Linked DNA regions of Homo sapiens: region 1 is linked to region 2. Evidence: promoter capture Hi-C in human tissues and cell types (Jung and others, 2019). All regions are on one chromosome and are shown on one strand. Each heading gives the region's core, a stretch centred on a gene start or on the middle of the fragment in contact. The rest is flanking DNA. Distances are from core to core; before and after follow the strand shown.

Region 1 (6,001 bases), core at 2,983-5,482, 490 kb after region 2:
AGCTTCTCTAAAGGGCAGGGCTTGGGGGTCCCTGTGTCCCTCTTATTGAAGCACGTTTCCCTCTCTTTTTTTTCAGTAGAAAGACAGTTGAGGGGGTGTGTTCTGTGTGACACTGCTGCAGGCTCCTTTGGGGGAGAAACCCTGATCTAAGTCACAGCTGGTTGGGGTCTTAAGTCCTTAAGCAGTTTAACTTGGGGTCAGGCATAAAATGGGGGGGGTGGGTAGAAATAGAAAATATACAAACAACAGGAATATAAAATGTGGGACACCTTCTGTGGCCTGGACATCCCTGCTGCCTCGAGCTCCCCGCAGCTGCTGATGTTCGCTAGCGCCTCTCGTCACCCCAGTACCACGCTCTGACCTTCTGTTCCTGCTGCACCTGTTCCCCACCCCAGCATCTTTGCCCGAGGGAAGGCTTCGTCCAATCCCGTTCCCGCCCTGGATGACCACGCCAGCTGTGGGCCTGCCTGGCCGAACGCAGGTCTCCATCAGAGGGGCCCGTCTGCATGGGGGTGCCTGCACACCTGTCGTGTCGACATCACTGAGGACCCCTTGGGGGCTCAGGCCAGCTTGAGGGCCTCTTTGTCTCCTAAATAACTGGGACAGTATCTGGGGCTTAGATGAGCAGTCAGCATAGCAATAAGTGACCGGAAATACAGAGATGTGTGGACTAAGACTGTTGAGGTTGACTCGGATGTGTGCAAAGGCCCCAAAGTGACCTCCCTCCACGGTTGAGCCGTTGCCTGAAACCCGACTATGAGAATGCAGTTCTGTATTTTAAGGCAGATGAGACAAATGCCCCCAAGAATGGCAATGCAGTGAGCTCTGTGACTCACCTCACCTCCTGGTGATTGAGCCTTTCTGATCCTCCTGAGTTTAAGGATCCTTGGGTGGATGGGTGGGCGGGGCACAGCTGAGGTCAGAGCTCTCAAAGGCCAATACTACGGACTTGCCTTTTTTGTTGTTGTTTTATTTGGAGGGGGGTGTTTGTTTTATCATGGTAAAATAAACATAGCATAAAAATTACCATTTTAACTACTTTTAATTGTACCATTCAGTGGCATTAAGTAATTCACATTTTTACACAGCCATCACCACCCTTCATCTCTAGAGGTCTTTTCATCTTCCCAAACAAACTCTGTCCCCAATAAACACTCCCCATTCCCATCCCTTAGTCCCGAGCAGCCACCCTTCTACTTTCTGTTTCTATGAATTTGCCTACCTAAGAACCTATTTAAGTGGATCATGCAATATTTGTCCTTTTGTGACTGGCTTACTTCACTTAGCATAATGTCTTCAGGATTCCCTCAGAACAAGGACCTCTAAGGACAAAAATAAGTGAAAATAAGAAAAAAAGAAAAAATGCTTCCTTTATACTATAGCATATGTTGGATATGGCCTCCCTTTTTAAGGCTGAGTTATATTTCATCCTCTGGATGGATCACATTTTCTTATCCATTCATCTGTTGATGGACACCTGCGTTGCTCCCACCTTTTGGCTGTTGTGAATATGCTGCCGTGAACATAGGTGTGCAAATATCATTTCAGGTCCTTGCTTTCACTTTTGGGGGGTTATACCCAAAAGTGGCATTGCTGAGTCAGATGGTAATCCTCTGTTTAATTCTATGAAGAACAGGGATATTGTTTTCTCCAGTTGGCTGCACCGTTGTACATTCCCACCAGGAATGTACTGGTGCACCAGGGTTCCAGTTTCCCCACATTCTTGTCAGCACTTGTTATTTCCTGTTTGTTTGACAGCAGCTACCATCCTGATGGATGTGAAGGGCTACCACATTGTCGCTGTGATGTACATTTCCCCGATGACAGTGACGTTGAGCATCTTTCCATGTGCTTCTTGGCCATCTGTATGTCCTCTTCAGTTTTTGTTTTGTTTTAAACTTGCACTCAGATGGATAGTTATATGTGTGACCTAAGGAGAACCACTCAGTGATGAAGAATAAACGTGGCAACACCAGCTAGCATAGCTTAGCAGCATCTGTTATCTGCCTGAGGGCGGTGAATTCCCAGTGAGATGCTCATTCTAGTACTGTCCTAGAATGAAATGAGTCTCAGCTGGCATGTTCCTCGCTCTCCTTCTCGGTGCCCATCTTTTTCTTAGTTGAAATGATCTGTGATTCTGGATGCAGCCCGTGTTGTTCTGGGACGTCTCTGTATTGCACTAAATTAATAAAGGAGCTTTCATTTTTGCAGTTATGTATTTTGAATTCCCTATTCTCTCTTCATCCTGAATGACTGAGACTTGATTAGACATCGGCACAGCGCACCTGACATGGCGCTGACATGGAAATGCAATGGGTGGCAGCTCGGGGTGCAGACCCCACCCAGGATGCTGTGCCCGAGGGGAGCCAGGGCTTCCCTTTGAAATGGCAAAGGTTCCCACCATCCCTCCAGCCCCCGATGGCAGATCCCTTCTCACTTCTTCCTCACTGGAGCTGTGACTCCTTCCGGTGTTTTCCTTGGGTTGATGAAACAGAAACTCTCCTGGGGCCTTTTTTATTTTATTTTTTAATTTTATTTGTGGTAAGAACATCTAACATGAGACCCACCCTCTTAACAGGTTTTTTCAGTGTACAGCACAGTATCGTGAACTATAGACACAATGTGTGCAGCAGAGTTCCAGAGCTTATTCATCTCGCCTGCCTGAAAGCTGATGCTAGTTGACGAGCAACTCCCCATGTCTCCCTCCCTCTACCCCCGGCAACCATCAGCCCACTCTTTGATTTTCTGAATTTGCCTATTTTTACATGCCTCATGTAAGTGGAATCATGTAGTATTTGTCCTTCTGTGACTGGCTTATTTCACTTAACATAATTCCTCCAAGTTCATCCACGTGTCGTACGTGTCAGAATTTCATTCGTTCTTAAGCGGAATCATATTCTATTGTATTTTTCACTGTGTTTCGTGTGTCCCTTCACCTATCAGTGGACCTCTGCGTTGTTTCCATATCTTGGCTGTTGTGGATAACACTGCAGTGAACGTGGGAGCGCTCACGTCAAGTGCTTTGAGATCCTAATTTCAATTCTTTTGGATAAGTACCTGGAAGTAGAATCACTGGATCATATGGCAGTTCTAGTTTTAGTTTTTTGAGGAACTGCCATACTGTTTTCCATAATGGCTGCACCATTTTTGCATCCCTACCAACAGTGTTTAAAGGTTCCAATTTCTCTCCATCCTGGGGACTTTGATACTGAGAACCTAACCTGTCTAGCCTCTTCTGCACTGGCCGCCTTTGCAAGAGCTGGTTGCCTCTCTGAAAACTCTCCTCCCAGGCCTCTTCCCTTCCCCTCACCCACATGGCAGGACAGTCCTACTTCCTTTTCCCTTAAGGGAAGATTCAAATGCTGCTTCTTTGGTGAAGTCTTCCCCAGGCCTCGTCCCTTTCTTTGCATTCCTGTAGCACAGAACCCCATCTGTGTCTTATAGGCACGTGTCTCTTCATCAGACTGTGAGCCCCTTGAGGCCGGTGGTGTGGCTTCATCTCGGCATCTCCCCTGGCATGGTGCTACCTCATCCTCCTTGCTGAATAAGTGAATGAAATGCATTCATTATACACAGCCGCCTTCTGTTTTCCATTATTTGTCATTATTCAGTGTGTTCTGTGAACCAGGAGCTGGGCATGGCTTGTTGAATAAGAACACAGTCCCTAAACTAAGGAGCTTTTAGGCTGGTAACCAAAAAGGGAAATTCTAAATTTTTTTATGATAAGCTTTTAGATATCTTTTTGATATTTAGAATGAAGTAAACACAGTAGATGTAGTCCAATTTTGGAAATCATTTAAGACCTGAGCCTAATTGAGCAGGTAGAAAGCCAGGAAGAACACACCTACTTTGTATTTGCAGTCCTTTCCTCATGCTAATTGATAAGGCGATTAATCCTTACACTATTGCTGAGCCACAACCCCATTTAAAAATAAAAATTAGGAAAGCTGTCTGGATAATTATTAGCAAAGACTTTACAGAGGCTGGGATAAGTCCTCCAGCTGGTTGTTTGCACTGGGAGTTTTACAGTGTACTTGACCTTTGCTTAAGGTAAGGGAGTTTGTTTGGCAAAAACAATGATACATATTTCCATGGCATTGGAATCCTGCTGGATTTCTGAGACTCTGGGAATGCAGATGTGGGCACTGGAGTAAATGTGAGCATTTCATTACAGTGCCTGCCTTGTTTTGGGTTTTTTTTTTTTTTTTTTTTTTTTTTTTGGCTCTGTTTTGGTTTTCTCTTCCAGGCTGTATTGCTAGGTTTACTGCTTTAAAATTGTCTTTATGGTCCAGGCTGCTGCAGCCTTTAGAACAAACCACGACAGTTGGGATCTAGAAGCCTGCGCCTCTCCTAGAGACACCACCTGCATCACAGTGTCGGTGACCTGACCTTTGAAGGGGCCATTTCCCATCTTGGAAATGGGGATACTACTTGATATTCTTATTTATAGGATTTGGTGAGGGCATATGAGGTAACACATCCACAGATGCTCTGAAGGGCTTGAGCGGGATCCTGCACCTTATTACAGGTGGTTGTTGGTATCTTGGGCAGGTTTCAAGACCTGGAGGTTCAAGCCAGCCCATCTCACTGCTGAGCCAATAAGGAGGAAGACAACAGGGTTACAACAAAGCTTCAGGCTTAGGAAGAAATGTTTCACGTGGATGGTGTCCTGGCCAGCGGGTTTGGTTCTAAAATAAACACTACTGTCTCTGGGGCTGAAGATTTGCCCAGGACAATGAAGCAGCCAGCGGGAGGGTAGTGCAGAGCCGGTAAGTTTAGGGTCAGCTTTATTTTCACAGGCAAATGAGGAAGTGAGAGGCTGCTAAAATCACTCCTCTGAGGCTTCCCCTGCCCCTTGGATGAGGTCGCTGCCATCTCTGAGATGGGGGTGTGGCCTGTTACCCTTGTAGGCACCGAGGGTGGATCTAAGACACTGTTTTACCATCCAATCCTGTCAGCGGTTCCATGGCCCACCGGTTTCCTTTTGAATGTTTCCAGGAGCCAGAAGTCCAGATCCCAAGGGCTGGCACGCAGAAGGAGGGCCCTCCCGAGAGAGCACGCGTGCTTCGATTTCTTTCGTGATTATGAGATGTTTCTGATGTCACGTGTATCTGCTACCCGGACTCGGAAACAAGCCTCATTAATAAGTCCCACCCTCCCGCCTCCACCCACCCCCGCCTCCTCCCGCCTCCTCCCCCTCCCGCGCCCCCCGCCTCCTCCCCCTCCCCTGTCCACAAGTCTCCCCACCCCGTTTGCTGTTTTTCATCCTCATGAGTTTCGTTAGGTTTTCCCACATCTAGAACACTGCGTTGTACAGTTTTGCCTTTAAAAAAAAACTTCCTACAAATGCTGTCGTACTGTGTTTGTTTTTCTGAACTTCCTTCTTTTTTTAATACCTCAGCGTTATATCCAGTGGCTCCTCCGTGTCGATGCGGAGACAGGGAATGAGTGAGAGCGACGCCGGCTTTGAGAGCTGGGGTTTGTGCAGGGCTGAGTGAGACCTTGGGCTCCCGTGGCCCAGAACTTAAGAAATAGCAAATGAGAATAGTAGATGAGCCAGAAATTGAGAGTAAATTTGGGAAGGCACAGAAAGGACTGACCAGGCATCAAGTGGCCTAGCTCTGGAGCCTGGGAGTGGGGCTGATACAGGGAGCGGGGCGGGAGGGCCCAGACCTAGCCCAGACTCATGAGAACGGTAACCTTGTTATGACCTTGGCCTTCACACAATAACTTCCCTCTGCCCAGCAACGTCCTGTTCTCTTATACACATGGTAAGAGGGAAAATATCTATCTATAAATACATTTATATTTCTAAGAGATCATCATGGAGATTTTTTTTCTCGACCCAGGGAGGGTTGCTTTGTTGCATAGAACAGGGTGTGACGAACCCACGAGCAGCATGCTTGTCTTCCTCCCGTCTTTTAAGTTCAAAGGCTTCTCACTGTACCTAATAAGTCGATGTCTTTACTGATATTATTTCTGATTTCCAGTTTGAAGATGA
Region 2 (5,748 bases), core at 855-3,354:
TAAAGCCCACTAGAGGGGGGCTGCTCCCCAACCTTTGCTAGCCCCCTCCTGCTGGCAACTGCTGATCCTGGGACCAGTGATGGGCAGGTCCACCTTTGCCCTCAAATGGTTCTGAACTAGGTCATTGCAGTCCTTTAAATAAATTAACCAAAACCATAATAATAACAACAGAAACATTTATTAAGAGCTAAGCGTTTTACAAATATTAATTCACTTAATACTCACATCAATCTTATAAAGTAAGTGCTCTTGTTATTTCCTTTTACAGGTGACCAAACTGAGGCATGGGGGTTTAATAAGCTTACCCAAAACTACACAGCAAGGAGGAGGCTGTGTCGGGAATCAAACTCAGTCACTGTGGCCCCCAAGTCCATGCTCATAACCACCAGGTAAAAAATGTGCCTCCTATTCTAATTTCTGTCTGACAGTGGGCCCAGTCATGGTTTCAATACAGCTCAGCAGAGCAATGCAGCAAATCCAGGTGGCAACACTAAAATACTCAGAAAAGACCAACCAAGCAACCAAAGCATAACATCAGCAATAGCACAACCAATGTGAATCATGAGAACCCTCTGTCTTTATTAAATTTGGGGGAAGAAATCAAGGTCACGAAATCAAGTGACTGGTGATGGGGCCTAGAAATGAGTGTCTCCCCCCACCCCCGGTTTCCGCTCTGGCAGGCGGGTGTTAGCGGATGGTGTACTTGTCCCACTTCTTCTCGGGGTCATAGGCCTCCCAGCGGCTGGCGGGGAAGATGTGCTTGTTCTTCTCGTACCAGCTGCGCAGCACCACCTTGCCCGCGTGCGACTCGTCCTTCTCCATGGTGGCGTCGCTGAGCAGGCGCACGTCATCGTGCACATCGAAGCTGAAGAGCGGCCCGCTCTTGCCCCTCGCCCTGGCGATGATGAAGTCGTAGAAGGTGTGGTAGTGCGGCAGGATGAGGTCCTCCTTGATGAACATGAGCTGCTCCACGCCGGCGGAGCGCAGCTCCAGGAAGTCCTTGCGCAGCCCCTGCAGCGCCTTCTTCAGGAACTGCTGCACCGTGTTGCCCTTGCGCACCCGCACCGTGCGCCGGTGGCCCGAGCCGTCCCAGTAGCTGAAGGTGACCTCCATCTCCTCGTCCTTCACTTTCTCGCGCTGCGCCTCCCACTCTTGGCGCAGCTCCTCTCGGAGCCGGTTCTCCTCCTCCTCGCGGTCGCGGTCTGGCAGGAAGCTGGTGTCCACGTCGGGGTTCTTGCCCAGGTTTCCGGCGCGCCTGGCCTCGGCCGCGTCGGCCTGGTCATCGAGGTCGTCTAGTGCAAAGGACAGGCAGGAGATCTTACGCTTGCGCTCGCGCCGCTGCTCCTGCTCCCGCTGCCGCTCCTGCTGCAGCCGCTGCTCCTCCAGGTGCTGGCGCTTGGCCAGCTGCCGCTCGCGCTCCCTGACCAGGGCCTCCTGCCGGGCCTTCATGTCGTTCAGGGTCACCAGGCCCACCGTGCTGGACTTCAGCTCGGCCTCCACGGCGTCGTAATGCGCCGAGAACCTCTTGTCCACCTGCGACTTGAGGATGGTCTCCTCGGCGATGCGCTGCTTCAGCACCTCCATCTGCTCCCGCTGCCTTTCGCGCTTCTTGAGGAGGTGCATGGCACGGCCTGCCTCGCGCATGGTGCCCTTGTACTGCGCCATGGCCCGCGCCTACCCGATGGGCTCTGCAGCAAAGAGGAAAAACGCGGCAGGTAGAGGGGGGCCCACGCAACGGCGGGGAATGCTCAGCTCTGCGCCTCCTCACAGGGCTTTCGGCAGTGATGGAAGCGTTCAGGGGCTGGGCCGACCTGCTAGGGTAACCACCAACCTGACAGTGTCACCAGGCACCAATTTCCAGCATTTTATTTGACCTCAATAAATGCAAATGCGAACGGCCCCACGTAACGGGTGGCTGCCATGCCTGAGCGCAGCGCTGAATTTGGGGAGCTGCATACAGAGAGGGTTGGGCTACTGAGCGGACCCTTACCTGCCCAAGCACCCTGTCGAGCGGAGACACGCGGGAGCTGACCTCCACGAGAACCACCCACGAGCAGAGGCCCACTCGCCCCGGGCTCTCGCGACAGCCGTGGACACAGGAAGTGGAGGCGGTGCGCCCCCTGGCGGGGAGGCGGGCCCTGAGGAGAGTGCCAGGCTCCTGGTAGGGCGGCTGCGGAAACAGGAAGTGGAGGTGGATCGCCCCCTGGCGGGGAGGCGGGCCCTGGGAAGAGCTCCGGGCTCCTGGTAGGGGCGGTGCTCCTGTGGGGCGGGCCAGCGCGGGGAGGATCCTGGAGGAGGCGCTTCTGGCCCTGCCCAGCCGTGGCTGGCCGGGGCTCCTGTTTTCACGCTGTGGGCAGGGCGGGCCCCCACCTGCTGTGCGTGCGTGCTGAGCCTTCTCGTGCCCAACTGTAAACACGCAGAAGCAATGTGGGCGCAGCGCAAGCTGCTGTGGCCACCCAGAGAGCCTTGCAACACGGCCCTGCTCTCCAACCCTCCTCCTCCCGCCTCTGATGCTACCCCGCTGTGGCGTCTCGTGAACATTACCTGCGCACCACTGCCTGTAATTCTTTCTTATGGCCCCAACACAACCATTCTTTGATAATAGAACCCTACTCGCCCCCCAGTTTCGTGACAAAACCTGCACTCAGCTTGTTTGACCTCTTCTATACAGCAGTTTCCCCCGGGTTCTAAGCTCTAATAACCATGGGACACTGAGTTAAAGTGTAGCAGTGTCTTTACTGTGAGCCTCTAACATGCCAGTTTCCACTGTAACTCTCCAAGAGCAGGGCAGACCAGTTCATGTTTCGTGACCGTTTCTCCCCTGCAGGAGATCTGGTAACACTCGCCGAAACCAGTGCTTCCTGGGACCTAGTTTGGAAAAGCTGGTTGTGAAATACATACTGCGGTTCAGCCTCCTCCCGCCTAAGAGCAACAATGCCTGTGAGCATAACCTTACCAAGAAGCGTGAATCATATGATAATTACATATGGCACCCACATATCCAGAGGAGAACAGCACGGTGTGAGCCCTCATCAAATTGTCCAAGCCAGAAACCTAGGCCTTTTCCTGGAATGACGTTCCTCCACAGGTAATCAATTACAGAAGAGCCTTTCACACTTTCCTTTTTCTCCCATTCCCCACCACTTGCCTTAATCTAGGAAATTAGCATTTTTTTTAATCTAAAGCCTTCTCATTGTTGCCCCATCACCAGAATACAAGAATATCTTATTTTATTGAGCTCTGGGATACTGTGTGTTTTGTTTTTGTTTTTACAAATTGAAGATTTGTGGCAACACAGCGTCAAGCGCCTACTGGCTCCATTTTTCCAGCAGCATGTGCTCACTTCGTGTTCCTGTGTCACATTTTGGTAATTCTTGCAATATTTCAGACTTTTTCATTGTGATATCTGCTATGGTGATCTGTGATCATCGTTCTGTGAGGTTATTGTAATTGTTTGGGGGCACTCCGAAGTGTGCAGTAGAAGACAAAGACGTTTATTGATTTAACTGATAAATGTTATGTATGTTCTGACTGCTCCACTGACTGGCTGTTCCTTCATCTCTCTTCCTGTCCCTAGGCTTCCCTAGTGCCTGAGACACAGCAATATTGAAATTAGGCCAATTAATAACCCTACAATGGCCTCTAAGTGTTCAAGTGAAAAGAAGTGTCACACGTCTCTCACTTTAAATCAAAGGCTAGAAATGATTCAGCTCAGTGAGGAAAGTATGTCAAAAGCCAGGATAGGCCAAAAGCTAGGCCTCTTTTGCCAAACAGTTAGCTAAGTTGTGAATGCAAAGGAAAAAAATCTTGAATGAAACTGAAAGCGCTTTCCTGGTAAACATATGAATGATAAGAAAGCAAAACAGCCTTATTGCTTATATGGAGAAAGTTCTAGTGGTCTGGATAGAAGATCAAACCAGCCACGACATTCCCTTAAACCAAAGCCTAATCCAGGGCAAGGCCCTAAGTCTCTTCAATTCTGTGAAGCTGAGAGAGGTGAGGAAGCTTCAGAAGAAAAGTCTGAAGGTAGCAGAGGTTGGTTCATGAGGCTGAGGAAGGAAGTCACCTCTATAACATAAAGTGCAAGGTGAAGCAGCAAGTGTGATGGAGAAGCTGCAGCAGGTTATCCAGAAGATCTAGCTAAGAGCACTGATGACGGAGGCTACCCTAAACAATACATTTTCAATGTAGACAAAATAGCCTTCTATTGGAAGAAGATGCCATTTAGGACTTTTATATCTAGAGAGGAGAAGTCAATGCCTGGCTTCATGGCTTCAAAGGACAGGTTGACTCTCTTGCTAGGGGCTAGTGTAGCTGGAGACTTTCAGTTGAAGCCAATGCTCACTTACCATTCTGAAAATCTTAGTGCCCTTAAAAATTATGCTAAATCTACTGTGCCTGTGCTCTGTAAATGGAACAACAAAACCTGGAGGACAGCACATCTGTTTACAGCATGGTTTACTGAATATTTTTAAGCCCAGTGTTGAGACTTACTGCTCTGATTATTCCTTTCAAGATATTATTACTCATTAACAATGCACTTGGTCACCTAAGAGCTTGATGGAGATGCTCAAGGAGATTAAAGTTGATTTCATGCTTGCTAACACAACATCCATTCTGCAACCCATAGATCAAGGAGTAATTTTGACTTTTAAGTCTTATTATTTAAGAAATACATTTCCAAAGGTTATAGCTGCTGTATGTAATGATTTCTCTGATGGATCTGGGCAAAGTAAATTGAAATTTTTCTGGAAGGCATTCACCACTGTAGGTGCCATGAAGGACATTCACAGTTTTTGGGAGGAGGTAAAATATCAACATTAACAGAAGTTTGGAAGAAGTTGATTCAAACAGCATTACATGTTACAAAGAAATCTTTCGTGAAAGGTAGAATCAATCAATGTGACAAACTCAATATTGATTTAAGAAACTGCCACAGGCCCAGCCTTTGGCAACCACCACCCTGATCAGTCAGCAACCATCAACACTGAGGCAAGACCCTCCACCAGCAAATAGAGCACAGCTCACTGAATGCTCAGAGGATCATTAGCATTATTTAGCAATTAAGTATTTTTAATGAAATTATGCACATTATTTTCTTAGACAAAATGCTACTGCACACTTACTAGACTATAGTATAGTATAAACATAACTTTTATATGCACTAGAAAATTTAAAAATTTGTGTGACTGTCTTTGTGGTGGTCTGGAACTGAACCCACAGTATCTCCGAGGTATGCCTGTATTCTTGTTCTTGTCTAACTTCTATACAATATCCTCAGAGATCTTCATAAAAAATGAATCTGATAACATTACTCTCCTACTTGAAAAACTCCAACTTCCCTTGTAACAGCCACATCAGAATCTCTTTGTTTGTCCTCTAAGGTCTCTAATAGGTGGACCCCTGCAGCATTCACCCAGCTTTTTCACTGCGCCTGAATAGAAGATGCCCTTTCAGGCCAGGCGCAGTGGCTCACACCTGTAATCCCAGCACTTTGGGAGGCCGAGGCGGGTGGATCACGAGGTCAAGAGATCGAGACCATCCTGGCCAACATGGTGAAACCCCGTCTCTAATAAAAATAAAAATAAAAAAAATTAGCTGGGTGTGGTGGTGCATGCCTTGTAGTCCCAGCTGCTCGGGAGGCTGAGGCAGAAGAATTGCTTCAACCCAGGAGATGGAGGTTGCAGTGAGCCAAGATCGCACCACTGCACTCCAGCCTGGTGACCCAGAAAGACTTCATCTAAAAAA

What was found. Contacts are between HindIII fragments. The study calls those that stand out against the background at their distance.
Region 1: a fragment that was not itself captured here is called in contact with the fragment with the promoter of FAM50B in region 2 in 1 of the 25 tissues and cell types used here (aorta).

Annotation. Positions count from the first base shown.
Region 1 is chr6:3,355,276-3,361,276 of GRCh38, reverse strand. All of the region lies in intron 3 of SLC22A23 (solute carrier family 22 member 23), which reads left to right. Among named protein-coding and RNA genes, the nearest start is that of SLC22A23, 99 kb to the left of the region's middle. RefSeq lists an enhancer at 4,244-5,134. The HindIII fragment of the contact is 4,734 bases long and covers 1,866-6,001 here.
Region 2 is chr6:3,845,729-3,851,476 of GRCh38, reverse strand. FAM50B (family with sequence similarity 50 member B) reads right to left here and starts at 2,104. Exons shown (of 2, transcript NM_012135.3): 1 at 1,991-2,104; 2 at 160-1,688. The coding sequence starts at 1,665. The coding sequence ends at 688. It overlaps LOC107986557 (a long non-coding RNA gene), which reads left to right and starts at 2,111. Exons shown (of 3, transcript XR_001743931.2): 1 at 2,111-2,161; 2 at 2,828-3,088; 3 at 5,385-5,748. RefSeq lists an enhancer at 1,921-2,040 and a silencer at 2,311-2,430. The HindIII fragment of the contact is 6,203 bases long and covers 1-5,748 here.